2 separate regions of the Homo sapiens genome follow, and region 2 is linked to region 1. Evidence: promoter capture Hi-C in human tissues and cell types (Jung and others, 2019). All regions are on one chromosome and are shown on one strand. The core of a region is centred on a gene start or on the middle of the fragment in contact, and the rest is flanking DNA. Distances in the headings are between cores, read along the strand shown. Region 1 holds the start of MAP3K10 (mitogen-activated protein kinase kinase kinase 10). Region 2 has its middle 17 kb from the start of LGALS16.

Region 1 (7,788 bases), core at 1,517-4,016:
AAGGGGTTTCACCATATTGGTCAGGCTGGTCTCGAACTCCTGACCTCGGGTGATGCACCCACGTCGGCCTCCCAAAGTGCTGGGATTACAGGCGTGAGCCACCGCGCCCAGCCAAGCTCTCTGTTGATATACAAATGTCAGGCTTGGGAGGCAAGGAAGATGCAGTCCCTCTATTCTAGGGGCTTACAATTGCTATGGGTGGGGAATAGCAATATATTCCTAAAAATAGTGGGATGGATTAAAATAAATTTCAAGATGTAGAAGTGACAGAAATCAGGAATAGATGAGATGTGGGTGTTGAGAGCAAAGGGGGCACCTTCACATTTTGGGGCTTAACTGTGAGTGACGTGAGGGCCGGGGACATGCTGGCCTTCTCCACTGCTGATGCCTTTGCTTAGCACATGATCTGGCCTGGTAAATACCAAATGGAAGAATGAACAAATGAATGAAGAAATGAAAGGGAGTGAGATGGGGCACAGCACGAATGGGAGAGCCAGGAATGTAAGATTTTTTTTTTCTTGCTGTATCCCTGGGACAGGGTCTGGCACACAGCACTCTGGAAATATCTGTGGAATGAATGAATGAAATTGCTAGCCTGTGAGTACTGTCAGGGCAGAAACCATGGCTGTCTTACTCCCAGCTGGGCTCCTGCTTAATAGGTGCTCAATTAATACTTGTTGACACCACATGAAGCTCTTCCATCTAGAAATGAGTCTTGCAGAATGTTCCCTTCTACCTGGCTCCATTATTTATTCAACCAACCAATCAACTTTGGAGAACCTATCAGGCAGCCTGGAAGCTTTTATATAAGCCACATCAATTTAATTCCTCCCTCATCTTTTCCAGTTTGCCTTGGCCAGCTCGGCCTATGAAGACTCCAGGAAATGGTTCTCAACTGGGGGTGATTCTGCCCCCCAGGGGACATTTGCAATGCCTGGAGACACTTTTGGTTGTCATAGCTGGGGAGAGGGGGCAGGGAATGCTAATGACATCTAGTGGGAAGAGGCTAAAGATGCCGCTAAGCAACTCACAATTTACAGGACAGCCCCTACAACAATGATCTGGCCTCAAGTGCCAATAGTGCTGGGGTTGAGAGACACTGACTCCAGACGGGGTAGGCTCTTTTTGTCTCTGCCTGGTGGACTCTGGCAGCATGGCTGGATGGCAAGCACCTTGAAGGCAGGCACTGCATCTGTCCTGTTCATGCAGGGAACGCAGGTGTTCATGGATACATGTTTACTGAGCGATTGTGACTCTGCAGCCTGGGAGGCAGGTAAGTCCTTCAACCTTTCTGAGCCTCCTTTTTCTCCCTTAAGGCAGGCAAGGCCTACCTCACCTTCACCCTGAAGGTATCATACTGCTGCCCCTTCTCACTCCAGGCACAGTGTCATCTGGTGTCCCTCACCCTGTTTCCCACCACCTAGGCCTGGCCTTGAGAGGTTCTGTGGAAGGAATTTTGGGGAGAGGACACCACTTACTGTTGATGGACTTGAGGTCCCGGTGGATGATGGGCACAGGGGCATCATTGTGTAGGTAGTTCATGCCCCGGGCCACCTGCACAGCCCAGTTGACCAGCACGTGAGGTGGCACCCGGCGACCTGCCAGCACCCTGCTCAGTGCACCACCCCGGGCATACTCCATCACTAGGCAGAGGTGTGGGGGGTTGAGGCAGGCGCCCCTAAGGGCAATTATGTTGGGGTGCTGCAGGGCTCCAAAGAGCCGGGCTTCCTGGCACACCTGCTCCGCTGTCACTGCCGGGTCCTTCTCAGGGTCCAGCCGGGCGGCCTTGACTGCCACCTCCTCGCCACGCCACAGGGCCCGATAGACCTTGCCAAAGCCCCCCACACCGATGATCTCCTCTAGCTGCAGCTCGTGGAAGGGGATCTCCTGGGGCAGCTGGAGGCCCGCGGGTGCAGCGGGGGCGCCGGGGGCCACGTAGTTGCTGGGGAAGACGCCCACGCGGCCGCTGGGGAGCTGCCCGGTCCACCAGCCCTCGTCGCCGGACACCGCACAGTCTTGGGAAAGCACCTGGACGCGATCGCCCCTCCGCAGGGTCAGCTCCTCGTCGCCCGCCGCCTCGTAGTCGAACACCGCGGTCCAGACGGGCCCCGCGGGGGTCGTGCCCCACTCCTTGGCCACCGCCCCCTCCTCCTCCTCCATGGGGGAGGGGCCGGGGGCTGCGGGAGGCCGCTTCACACAGGCTGCCCGCGGGATGCAGAGGGCGGGCCCCGGCGGCCGGGATGGAGGGCAGTCCCTGCGGGGTCTAGGGAGCTCCTGAGGGCCATGGCTGGGGCGCCCTCCGCAGGAGCAAGAAAAAAAACCCTTTCAAAGGGCAGGCTCGTCCCTTCCGATTTGGCTGTACGGGCGGGGCGGGGCGGGGTGGGAGTGGGGCGGCAGGTTCACCCGTGCCCCCCAAACGGCAGAGGGCTAAGAGGGCCTGGCCGCGCGGCTCTCGAATGCCCGCCGGGGTCCGCCGGTGGGGGACGAGGGCGAGGGCGGCAGGCAGTCCCCGTTCCCCGCGCCGCTCACCCCGCGCAGCTCCACCGGCGGCCCCCGGCTCCGCATCCCGGGCCACGACTGCCGGGCCGGGCGGGGGTGGCGGGGCCCCTGGGGCGGCCGCCCCGGGCCGGGGTGGCGCGCCCCTCGGCCTCCTCACGCGCGGGGCAGCCGGGCGGCCCCCATCCTTGGCACCGGCCTCCCGGTCGGCCCCAGCCCCTGCCCCCCGCCCGTGCTGCTTCCCCGGGCCACCGGCGGGGCCCGAGTGACGTGTGGGCGCCGCCGCCGCGGTGCCTCCTGGGAGTTGTAGTCTCCGGCCGTGCGGCCTCGGGGCCCGGCTCTCAGCGCCCTCCAGCAGAGCCCCGCGGCCAGCCTCGGGCCGCAATGGACATGACACCCCACGAAGCCGAAGGAGTCCTCCCGGGGAGATGAGCCCGGCCTCGGCCCCTCCTTCGGACGCGGCGTAGCGGGCGCCCGGGGCGGGGGGAAGCGCTCCTCACAGACCCTGTGGGGGCCGCGGCCCAGGATGGGTTGGACTGCAACGGACGCGATTAGCAACGCGAAAAATAGGAGCTGCGTGCATGACTGTGACTGCCCGGAGCCGCGAACGCAGCCTGGACCTTATCCCTGAGGCAGGACGGCCCCTCGGACCCCCCGACCGAGATGTACGCTGGGAACTGTAGTCCGCGCGGGGACCTGGCGCTGCAGGGGGCGGCCCCCAAACAGCGGGCTGCGGGCGTCGGCGGGTGGTTGGAGCAAGTTAGGGGTCGGGCCGGTGGCGGGACTCTGCGGGGAAGATGGGGCTGGGAGGATGTGTTTAGTGTCCCTGGGGATGTCACAGCCACGTCTGCTTTCCCCACCAGCTCTGGGTTCCTCTGCTGAAGTCAGAACTCCTGCTCTTGAGAATCCCCGATTCCTATTTTATAGGAGTTTCAATTTCGGGGAGCTTAATGTGCATGTTGTATTCAGTGCTTTGTACACGTGGTATCGTTAAGTCTTCACAAAGAGCCCCATTTTACAGATGACTCATAGAGAAGTGAAGTCATTTGTGCAAGGCTACAGAGCTATAAATGGCAAAGCAAAAATGAAAGGCAGTTTTAAAAATTAACAACCAGGCCGGGCGCGGTGGCTCACGCCTGTAATCTCAGCGCTATGGGAGGCCAAGGCGGGCGGATCACGAGGCCAGGAGTTCGTGACCAGCCTGGCCAGCATGGTGAAACCCCCGTCTCTACTATTTAAAAAAAAAAAAAAAAATTAGCCGGGCGTGGTGGTGTGCGCCTGTAATCTATCCCAGCTACTCGGGAGGCTGAGGCAGGAGAATCGCTTGAACCTGGGAGGTGGAGGTTGCAGTGAGCCAAGATCACGCCACAGCACTCCAGCCTGGACGACAGGGCAAGACTCCGTCTCAAAATAAATAAATAAATAAATAACCATCGCCACGATTAACAAAAACAACAACAACAAAAAAAAAAACAACAAAAAACAAACAAACAAAAAACCCACTGCCTTTCTATTTAAAGAATGAGGAAAGTAGGTCCCGCAGAGGTTCAGTGACTTCTTCAAGATCTCTAAGCTTGTAAGAGGCAAAATTCTGGGTCTTTTTACTTGGCCTCTCCTGAGTGGTATGGGGTCTAGAGGGAGGAGAGAAGAAGAGGAAATAAGAGGGACTCTAGTGCCCAAACTCCAGAGAACTGCCCCTCAGGGTCCTTGGGGAATTGTTCCATTGTCAGAGGGAAGTGGGTTACCTGGTCTCCTGGCTACCTAGCAGGGACACTCGGAGCATATCAAAAATGCTTGTTGGAAGAGAGAGCCCCAGCTTCATTCTGAGTATAAGTGTTTCTGCTATAACCTGCTATATGCATTCTTAAAAAACCTTCAGTTCTTCAAAACGGTGCACTAAAATTAACAAGACTTCATGGAAAAAATAGAGTTAGAGACAGATTGCTCAAAATATATGCAACTAGCTGGGCACGGTGGCTCATGCCTGTAATCCCAGCACTTTCAGAGGCCGAGGAGGGAGAATTACTGGAGTCCAGGAGTTTCAGACTAGCCTGGGCAACATAGGGAGACTCCGTCTCTACAAAAAAATAAAAAATTAGGCGGGTGTGGTGGTGTGCACCTGTGTTCCCAGCTACTCGGGAGACTGAGGTATAGGGGTATTACCTGAGCCCAGGAGGTCGAGGCTACTGTGAGCTGTGATTGTGGCACTGACTGCACTCCAGCCTGAGAGACAGAGCGAGACCCTGACTCAAAAAAAAAAAAGTAAAAATAAAAACCTGTATACAACTTTTTTTTTTTTTGAGATGGAGTCTCACTCTGTTGCCAGGCTGGAGTGCAGTGGCACGGTCTTGGCATACCACAACCTCCGACTCCCTGGTTCAAGTGATTCTCCTGCTTCAGCCTTCCGAGTAGTTGGAATTACAGGTGGGCGCCACCATGCCCAGCTAATTTTTGTATTTTTAGTAGAGACAGGGTTTCACCATGTTGGCCAGGATAGTCTCGATCTCCTGACCTCGTGATCCGCCCGCCTTGGCCTCTCAAAGTGCTGGGATTACAGGTGTGAGGCACCATGCCCGGCCTCTTGTATACAACTTTATATTCAGAGTGCTACAAAACCAATAATGATGCTAATAGAAACACTAGAATAGGTAAATTTCCATGAGCATTTGCTTTCAGCAGCACTTTGCAGCCTTGAAGGTGGGGCTTATGCTTCCTCTTTGGGGATGCTGGTTGGAGATATTAACTATTGATGGGGATCATTTTCATCAAAACTCGAAATGTGATCCAAGGTGTGATCTTTTTCATTAATCTGTTATTTTAATATGGGAGAAATATATTTGCAATTTCTTCATCTGCATTCATGGATTTGCCATAGGCATAACACTGTGACAAATATGGTGGTCTTTGAAGTCACTAAACCAGCCACCGTGGATCCAAAGGAAGACACTTCTGTAGATTTGCAGCTTTTTCCTCTGAAGATCTTCTTTTAGTACTAAGGCTTCCCCTTTAACTGTGAGAAAGCTTGGCCCTGATTGCTTCAAAATGTTAACTTCCTGGAGAAAATTGCATGTTAACCAACATGCTTGTGTTATGCTGACATCATTACTCTGTTTACCAATCATTTATGGGGTGATTCATCTCAAAGAAGCAAATAGAGGGTGGGGGCGGTGGCTCACACACCTGTAATCGCAGCACTTTGGGAGGCTGAGGCAGGCAAATCACCTGAGGTCAGGAGTTTGAGACCAGCCTGGACAACATGGTGAAACCTCATCTCTACTAAAAATACAAAAATTAGCCAGGCGTGGTGGCAGGTGCCTGTAATCTCAGCTACTCAGGAGGCTGAGGCAGGAGAATCGCTTGAACCTGGGAGGCGGAGGTTGCAGTGAGCCGAGATCGAGCCAGTGTACTCTAGCCCGGACGACAGAGGGAGACTCTGGAAGAAGCAAATGGGCTGCAGAACAGGTTGTCTCTGGGCCCGGTGCGGTGGCTCACGCCTGTAATCCCAGCACTTTGGGAGGCCAAGGCGGGTGGATCACAAGGTCAGGAGTTCAAGACCAGCCTGGCCAACATGGTGAAACCCTGTCTCTACTAAAAATACAAATTTAGTCAGGGCATGGTGGCAGTCACCTGTAATCCCAGCTGCTCGGGAGGCTGAGGCAGGGGAATCGCTTGAACCGGGTGGCAGAGGTTGCAGTGAGCCGAGATTGCGCCACTGCACTCCAGCCTGGTGACAGAGTGAGACTCCATCTCAAAAAAAAAAAGAAAAAAAATTATCTTGGATTTGGCTGCCTTGTTGAACTCACTCTTGCTTGTTCTAGAATAGCTTGACAGATAATTCTCTTCGATTTTCTAGCTAGATGATCCTGTTGTCCAGAAAAAAGAAAAAAATTACAGCTTTAAAAAATCTGATGTCTATGCTTTTTTTCTTAATCCTCTCCTCTTTGGCTAGGAGTTCCAATACAATGTTGAATGGCAGTGGTATTAATGGACAATTCTTGTCTTGTCCTAGACATTTAAGGGAATGATCCTAAGGTTTCATCATTAAATATGATGCTTTCAGTAGATTTCTAGTAGAAGTCCTTTATCAGGTTCTATTCCTAACTTGCTAGAGATTTTTCTTTCTTTCTTTCTTTCTTTCTTTTTTAAATGCAGGTGTTACATTTTATCAAATGCTTTTTATGCATTTATTTATGCAATCAGATGGTTTTTCTGCCTTTAATCCATTAATGTTGATTATCTCCTCTTTCTTGCTTTCACCATTGCTGGATTTGATTTAATAATACTTTATTTAGGGTTGTTTTGCATTTCTTTTCTTTTCTTTTCTTTTTTTTTTTTTTTTGAGACAGCCTTGCTGTGTCATCCAGGCTATAGTGCAGTGGTGATATCTCAGCTCACCCACCTCCTGGGTTCAAGCGATTCTCCCACCTCAGCCTCCAGAGCTGAGACTATAGGCGCATGCCACTGTGCCCAGCTAATTGTTACATTTTTAGTAGACATGGGGTTTTGCCATGTTGGCCGGAGTGGTCTCCAAATCCTGGCCTCAAGGAATCCACCTGCCTTGGCCTCCCAAGGTGCTGGGATTACAGGCATGAGCCACTGTGCCTGGCCTGCATTTGTTTTCATAAATGGAATTTTCTGGTGTTATTCTTGCCTAGTTTTGACATTGGCGGAATGCTAGCCCTATTCAATGAGTTGGGGAGCTTTTTTTTTTTTTTGTGGTGAGAACACTTAAGACCTACCCTTATAACAAATTTCAAGTATACAATAAAATCTTATTAACGATAGTCGTGTCATTGTACATTAGATCTCTAGAACTTATTCATCTTGCATAACTGATATTTTGTATCCCTTGACTAATATCAAGTCAACTTTTTATTTTTTAATCTTTTTTTAAGATGGAGTCTCGCTCTGTCGCCCAGGCTGGAGTGCAGTGGCACAATCTTGGCTCACTGCAACCTCCACCTCCTGGGTTCAAGTGATTCTCCTGCCTCAGCCTCCCTAGTAGCTGGGATTACAGGCATAAGCTACTATGCCCACCCAGCTAATTTTTGTATTTTCAGTATAGACTGAGTTTCGCCATGATGACCAGGCTGGTGCTGAAATTACAGGCATGCGCCATTTCTGACCTCAAGTAATCCGCCCTCCTTGGCCTCCCAAAGTGCTAGGATTACAGGCATGAGCCACCTCGCCCAGCTGTGTTAATTTTTTCAATGATGTTCTGATGTCCTTGTTTGGAAGAAATCTTTAAATTTCATGTAGTCAAACCCGTCACATTTTCACCATATGTGCTTT
Region 2 (7,788 bases), core at 2,013-4,512, 520 kb after region 1:
TCTAGTGTTCAAAGTGTGCCTTTAATTGGTAGTTGGTGAGCATGAATAAGTCCCTCTCCTTTTTTCATTCATTCATTCATTCTTTTTTTTTTTTTTTTTTAGATGGATTCTCGCTCTGTTGCCCAGGCTGGATTAAGTGGTGTGACCTTGACTCACTGCAACCTCCACCTCCTCCTGAGCTCAAGCGATTCTCCTGCTTCAGCCTCTTGAGTAGCTGGGACTACGGGCACCTGCCACCATGCCTGGCTAATTTCTGTATTATTATTTTTTTTTTTGAGACACAGTCTCACTCTGTCACTCAGGCTGGAGTGCAGTGGTGTGATCTTGGCTCACTGCAACCTCTGCCTCCTGGGTTCATGCCATTCTCCTCCCTCAGCCTCCCAAGTAGCTGGGACTACAAGCACCTGCCACCACACCCAGCTAATTTTTTGTATTTTTAATAGAGACAGGGTTTCACTGTGTTAGCCAGGATGGTCTCGATCTCCTGACCTCGTGATCCGCCCACCTCGGCCTCCCAAAGTGCTGGGATTACAGGCATGAGCCACTGCGCCCAGCCAATTTCTGTATTTTTAGTAGAAATAGGGTTTTGCCATGTTGATCAGGCTGGTCTTGAACTCCTGACCTCATGATCCACCAGCCTCAGCCTGGGATTACAGGCGTGAGCCACTGAGCCCAGCTCTTTCTTTCTTTTTGTAAAAATAATTCCAATGCAGTTAAAACCAAACCAAATACTTCCAGAATCCTATGATTCCCATTGTACCCCTACCATTCTAGTGCCACAGCTTCTGGAGTCCAGTGCTTCACCTTCTCTCAGCACTTCCTGCCAAGAACACACAGGCGACTATGCTTAGTCATTGTGAACTCGTAATTGTAATACCAAGCAATACTTAGTAATTGTGATACTTAGTATGCCATGGGTAATCACTACTTCACTTACCAGCAATGGATCTTTACAGTGATCTGCCCAATAAGAGATTTAGGTTCCCAGTATGAGGGTCCAGCTGCTTTCTATGACTTTTTCTGGCATAAGCTTGGTTTTCACCCTCACCCCGACCAAATAAGAAATGTTTCTTAGTACTCTCTGCCCAGAAGATGAAAGGAAGTATTTATCCATCTGCCCCCATCCCCAGTTGTTAAAAAGTCATCCTGTTGGCATTAAGTCTCCCACAACTTTGGTTTGCAAATGCATGGGTGCTGAGAGGATTTCTGCAAAAGTCCTATTCTACCATCTCAAAGAAGCCCAGTGCTGGAAAGAGGAAGGTACTGGAAAGATAGATACTAAGGAGAGGCACTGTCAGTGTGTACCTGCATGAAGCTAGTGAACAACTGTCTGGACCTGGTCACCTTAGCAATGGCTGGATGAAGAGGTGGGGCTGAGAGGATAACACGTGGTGCAAGAAATGCCTGATATACTGACCTCTTTTCAATTCCTCATACCACCAAGCTCATTTTCATTTTTGGAGCCTTATATATGACAAAAATTCAAAAAGCATCAAAAAATGTCATAACAAGGCAGGGAGAATGTTCTAGATTAAAAGAGACCAAAGAAGTATAGCACCAAAGTGCATGAAACCTGATTGGATAATGGATTTTAAAACAGCTATAAAGGACATGCTTTTGTACAATTGGGGAAATTAAAATAGTATCATAAATTAGAAGTTGATTCTTAGGTGGTGGCAGAGTAGAACTTCTATCAGTCTTGTGGATCTGAAGATACAAAAATTATAGGTTGTTGTCTGCCAAGTGGGAGAGAGAGTTAGGCTTTTAGTTGGAACCCTGAAAGAGATACACCCTAGAGCAGGGGTCCCCAACCCTCAAGCCATAGAGCAGTAACAATCCGTGGCCTGTTAGGAAAGAAGCCACAAAGCAGGAGGTGAGCAGTGGGTAAGCATTACTGCGTGAGTGGCCTCCTGTCAGATAAGCCCCAGCATTAGATTCTCATAGGAGCACGAATTAGAATTTTACAACCAGAATTCCACATTGTGGGTGCCACAGTGTATAGTTTTATCACAAATAGTAGCATAACTATAACAATTCCCACAAGAGTGGGATAGTAAAAAACATTTGTTTAAAACTTTACTTGTCAAGATATAACATTTCCCTTTGGGGATTTACGGAGTTCCAAGTGCAATTTCATTTATCATTAAAATTTTCTGCAATTATACATTAAAAAGAAGTTTTAATATTTGGTGGCAAATTTTGACAGGAAAGGGCAGAAATGACAACAAGTATATGTTGAGGTAAATGTGGGACTGAGTAAGATGGGTAGACCTTACTCAGTTACTTAATTTTTGTGATTTTTAGCTTAACATTTTCTGCTTTTCCACATGGACATTCTGGATGTTTCTCTGGACTGTTAGGGGTTGCTCCCCCAGCTTTTTAAGCTTTGACTTTAGTGTGATGTATTCAGGAGTTGATTCCTGTAAATTTTACTACTGAGAGGGTTGAAAGAAGAACAGTGGAGGGCCCTTCCCAGCTTGGCTTAGGGAAGGAGAGAGATGAGATTTTTCACTAATACTAAATTTCCTGGATTAAATAAAGATGGTTTTAGTTCCTGGACTTGGGCTTTCACTAGTTGTGTTAATGCCCTGAGACTTCCTTGCCTCTGTCTTAGCTGGCTGACCAGTTAATTTATTTCCTTTGCTTACCTTATTTATTTTCTTTTGATGTTCCCTACAATGCATCCTGCTATTTCTTGTGGAAGAAAAACTGAGGATAATAACCTATTAATTTCCTGGTGATATTTTATGGGAGATTCATTAGTGGTAAGAAAATGCCTTTCCTTTTAAATAGCAGCATGAGCATGGACAATTAGGAAAGCATACTTGGAGTTAGTAGAAATGTTAGCTATCTTTCTCTGGCTTAATTTAAGTGCTCTTGTAAGAGCTATTAGCTCAGCTAATTGAGTGCTTGTGTTTGGGGCAGTGACTACTGCTCATCCTGCCTTATGTACTTCTTGCTTTACTGGCTGTTTACTAGCTAAGAGCTCCCCTTAGAGGTCAGTGATCCTGCCACATTATGTGGGCTGTAAACAGTTGAATTATTTCCTAGGGTTAACTTGGAGGCTTTTTTGACTAGTAGAGCTATTATGACAATGACTTGGAAGCACGTGTAAATAGGTCTTTCTAACTACAGCTAAGGTTGAAAAAAATATTGGATTAGAGTTTTTCCCGAGATGCCCTTTACAGTTGTGCTATGAGAAGAGCGGAGGCCTGGATTAGAGAGGAGAAAAGAGAGAGACTGGCTCTAGTGCTTAGAAGGAGGTTTACTTTCCTTTTGTAAATTTCCAGAATCCTCTAGGACTCCTGTGCTCTATGGCAGTTTGAGTCACTGGAGCCAATGTTGGAGCCCTTGGACCCATCATTCCTGCTGGACCATCTGTGAGGCTGATTTTGAACCCAGTGACCTCTGCCTCTGGGGGTAGTTCTGTTTCCAGTGGTTTTTGCCACAGCCTGGATAGGGTTGAGTTTGCTTCATCTTGCTGCCTGGGCATTCCTTTTAAAAATGCTCTGGGCTGCCATGCCAATAGCAACTAGTGGATGTACCTTGGGGATTCTGGACTTTACAAGCTTGCAAAGCTGCTGCTGGAGCCTCTGTCCTTCTCTTGAGATTCCCCCGCTTTTGTTGGGACTCCTCCTTGTCCCTATTATAAAAGACCAAAGTCGCCACTTGCAGGAGGTTCTCTAAGGTGGTATTTTGTCCTAAGCTTGCTTTTTTAGTTTTAATATCAGGAGCTGCTTTTGTAATAAACTTCTCCTTCAAAATGAGCTGTTCCTCCATTGAATTAGGGGATAAGGAGATGTACTCTATTAGTGCCTCTCTTGGCCTTTCCATAAAGGCTACAGAATTATTATCTGGCTTTTGGTTCATTATAGACAGCTTAGAGTAACTGAGAGGTTTGGCCCTGGTTTCCTCTAGGCCTTTTATAGTGAGTATTAAAAAGTACTTCCTTTTCCTATCATTTCCTGAGCTATTGAAGTTTTAGTTAGGGTTGTTTATGAGAACCGCTTCCCTCCCATTTAGTAAAAATGCCATGTCCTTGTGCAAAAGAAAATAAATTGCTTTTCTCTTTACAGTTTTGAGATTAAGGAAGTTTCAGTGTTTCAGAGTGCACTCCAGAGGGGTGCAACCTAAAGATAATTTATTATCCATTTAGAAAAAGAAGAAAGAATACAAAGCATCTTCTTAGTCTCCTTCCTTTTGGTATGACCCAGAGTGGAGGAGCAGACAGGGAGCATCCTCTGATTACTTCCCCTCCCTGGTTTCTGGATCCCGGCACCATGTTAAATGTGCCACCCATGGCTGTAGGTGTGGTCCTCCAAGCCATAGAGCTGGATGAACTAAGTGATGGGGCTACCCGTGCTTACCCATGCAGTCTTAGCTTATCTGCCTTGTGTGATTTACCTTTGATTTCCTAAACATGTGCAGTTTGCCTGGCTCCCTGAAAACGGATCTCCGGGGAGACTGTGTCACCTCTGGGCAAGGCTCCTTTAATGGAGGCAATGTGCTAGATTGCCTGCTATTATGACCCGTGCTAATGCATTTACCCTTTAAAAAAAACTGTTCTGGTTAACTTCTAAACTTAATATCCCCTTACCAATTAAGTACTGTCTTAATTGGAGACAGAATAGGTGCCTTAAAAGAGTGTAGGAACCGAATGGCAGTTTTCCTACTGATGGGACAATATTGGGACTAAAATCTGGCTGTGGAAGACATCTTACTCCTAATGGTTGAAACCAGAGTTTCCCGTCCACAGAAGTAGCAGTAAAAAAGTGCAAAATGGAGAAATTGTGAAGCTGCAACGTACCACAGAGAACCAAGTGTCTCATGAAGAGGATTTTTATTTCCACCAGGTGGCGGTTTTGGCTTAGAAATACCATGTGCTCACCAGCGAAACCTTAGAGAGACAGACGTTTATTGAGTTACTGCCTGCCTTGATTCATGATCTTCTCTAACAGACCTGTTTCCCTGAACTGTAAAGATTCCTGCACATTAGACACAGTGAGAGAGACAGTAAGAGACCGCGGGTAGAGAGAGAAAGAAAGTTTGGTGGCAGGATAGCTGGAAGAGAGCCTAGAGATTAAAAGACAGATTTAAAGTTGAGATTTGCTCCATACTCACCAGTCTGATGAATGAATTCCCATTCCTGGCCAATGCACCTAAAAGATATGGCTCCGATGACTGGAGGGAACCAGGGTCCTTGGTCTCGTGCTGATAAGATTAACAACATGGACACATGTGGAGTGGTTTTAAGGGGTGAAAAGTTTCATAGGCAAGAAAGAAGGAAGGAAGAAAACAGCTCCCCCGTACAGAGACAGAGAGAGGGGGATTCGAACAAAAAACCCCCCATGCTCCCCACCCTGTGTCCAAGTGTTCTCATTGTTCAATTCCCACCTACGAGTGAGAACATGCGGTGTTTGGTTTTCTGTCCCTGCGATAGTTTGCTCAGAATGATGGGGGGAGGGAAAGCATTAAGAGAAATACCTAATGTAAATGACGAGTTAATGGGTGCAGCACACCAACATGGCACATGTATACATATGTAACAAACCTGCACGTTGTGCACATGTACCCTAGAACTTAAAGTATAATAATAAATAAAAACCTATCACACACACACACATAAAAACCATGTGTGGTGGAAAAGTGATTGCTTATATTGGGATGCTGGAGGAGGCGGCTTCTGGTTTCCATAGGGCCCAGGGGATTGGTTTGACCAGGTGTGTAATTTCTGTAGCCTGTGAAAAATCTGGCCCTCCCATCTTAGCCCTTTAATATGCAAATGCGGGTTGCCATGATGTTTCGAACACATGGTGTTATCTGAAAGTGGCCATGACACTTGGTACACCTGGTGACAAGGAAAAGATGGCAGGAATCACCACATTGAGTGAACCTCGTTTCTAATGACCCAGTATTTGCATATCAAAGCTTGCTCTCCTGGCCCTTCAAGCCACCTTTTCTGTTAGAAAAGAGATGGTTTGGGGGTTGTTTCTTATTACAGGAAAATTTCCACCAAGAACTTTTACCCTTACTATCTACCTAAAAATTATTTCTTAATAACTCCTGTATCACAAGGATGAGAAATAGTGTCCATGTAGGTCCTGAGAATAAAAAAAAAGAGCCTAATCCATGATATATAATACCTAAAAATGGCTTTGGAAGTGCATATTTTATTGTGGCCAATGTTTGACCTCTTTAAAAAGCTATAATATCATGACAGTGTGGTGCTGGCTTAAGGAGAGGCATAGAAATCAAAGGAGTAGAATAGAGAGCCTAGAAACACTCACAGAGGGTCACCTGAGAGTCCACAATGGGCTACGACCATCGCATTGGAAAAGGACAGACTTCTCAACACGTGATGCTGGGAAAACTGGACTTACACATACTGGTCCCTTAGCTTATAACATATACAATAGTGAACTCAAAATGTATCAATGAGTAAACGTAAGACCTTCAATGATAATGATAGGAGAAATGATAATGACAGGCAGATATCATCATGACATGAGATTGGGCAATGATTTCTTGATTATGGGCTGTAAATACAGACAAAGTGCACTTTATCTGTTTTTTCTTTTTTTTTTTTCTTATGTCATTTTCTTTTTTAAAAAATTATTATTATACTTTAAGTTTTAGGGTACATGTGCACAATGTGCAGGTTAGTTACATATGTATACATGTGCCATGCTGGTGTGCTGCACCCATTAACTCATCATTTAGCATTAGGTATATCTCCTAAAGCTATCCCTCCCCCCTTCCCCCACCCCACAACAGTCCCCAGAGTGTGATGTTCCCCTTCCTGTGTCCATGTGTTCTCATTGTTCAATTCCCACCTATGAGTGAGAATATGCAGTGTTTGGTTTTTTGTTCTTGCGATAGTTTACTGAGAATGATGATTTCCAATTTCATCCATGTCCCTACAAAGGACATGAACTCATCATTTTTTATGGCTGCATAGTACTCCATGGTGTATATGTGCCACATTTTCTTAATCCAGTCTATCAACGTTGGACATTTGGCTTGGTTACAAGTCTTTGCTATTGTGAATAGTGCCACAATAAACATACGTGTGCATGTGTCTTTATAGCAGCATGATTTATAGTCCTTTGGGTATATACCCAGTAATGGGATGGTTGGGTCAAATGGTATTTCTAGTTCTAGATCTCTGAGGAATTGCCACACTGACTTCCACAATGGTTGAACTAGTTTACAGTCCCACCAACAGTGTAAAAGTGTTCCTATTTCTCCACATCCTCTCCAGCACCTGTTGTTTCCTGACTTTTTAATGATTGCCATTCTAACTGGTATAAGATGGTATCTCATTGTGGTTTTGATTTGCATTTCTCTGATGGCCAGTGATGGTGAGCATTTTTTCATGTGTTTTTTGGCTGCATAAATGTCTTCTTTTGAGAAGTGTCTGTTCATGTCCTTTGCCCACTTTTTGATGGGGTTGTTTGTTTTTTTCTTGTAAATTTGTTGGAGTTCATTGTAGATTCTGGATATTAGCCCTTTGTCAGATGAGTAGGTTGCAAAAATTTTCTCCCATTTTGTAGGTTGCCTGTTCACTCTGACGGTAGTTTCTTTTGCTGTGCAGAAGCTCTTTAGTTTAATTAGATCCATTTGTCAATTTTGGCTTTTGTTGCCATTGCTTTTGGTGTTTTAGACATGAAGTCCTTGCCCATGCCTATGTCCTGAATGGTAATGCCTAGGTTTTCTTCTAGGGTTTTTATGGTTTTAGGTCTAACGTTTAAGTCTTTAATCCATCTTGAATTAATTTTTGTTTAAGGT

What was found. Contacts are between HindIII fragments. The study calls those that stand out against the background at their distance.
Region 2: a contact is called between a fragment that was not itself captured here and the fragment with the promoter of MAP3K10 in region 1, in 1 of the 25 tissues and cell types used here (lymphoblastoid cells).

Annotation. Positions count from the first base shown.
Region 1 is chr19:40,186,404-40,194,191 of GRCh38, reverse strand. MAP3K10 (mitogen-activated protein kinase kinase kinase 10) reads right to left here and starts at 2,766. Exons shown (of 10, transcript NM_002446.4): 1 at 1,479-2,766. The coding sequence starts at 2,160. RefSeq lists silencers at 2,069-2,368, 2,639-3,138 and an enhancer at 3,299-3,538. The HindIII fragment of the contact is 11,839 bases long and covers 1-4,793 here.
Region 2 is chr19:39,669,241-39,677,028 of GRCh38, reverse strand. No RefSeq gene overlaps it. Among named protein-coding and RNA genes, the nearest start is that of LGALS16, 17 kb to the right of the region's middle. The HindIII fragment of the contact is 3,110 bases long and covers 1,708-4,817 here.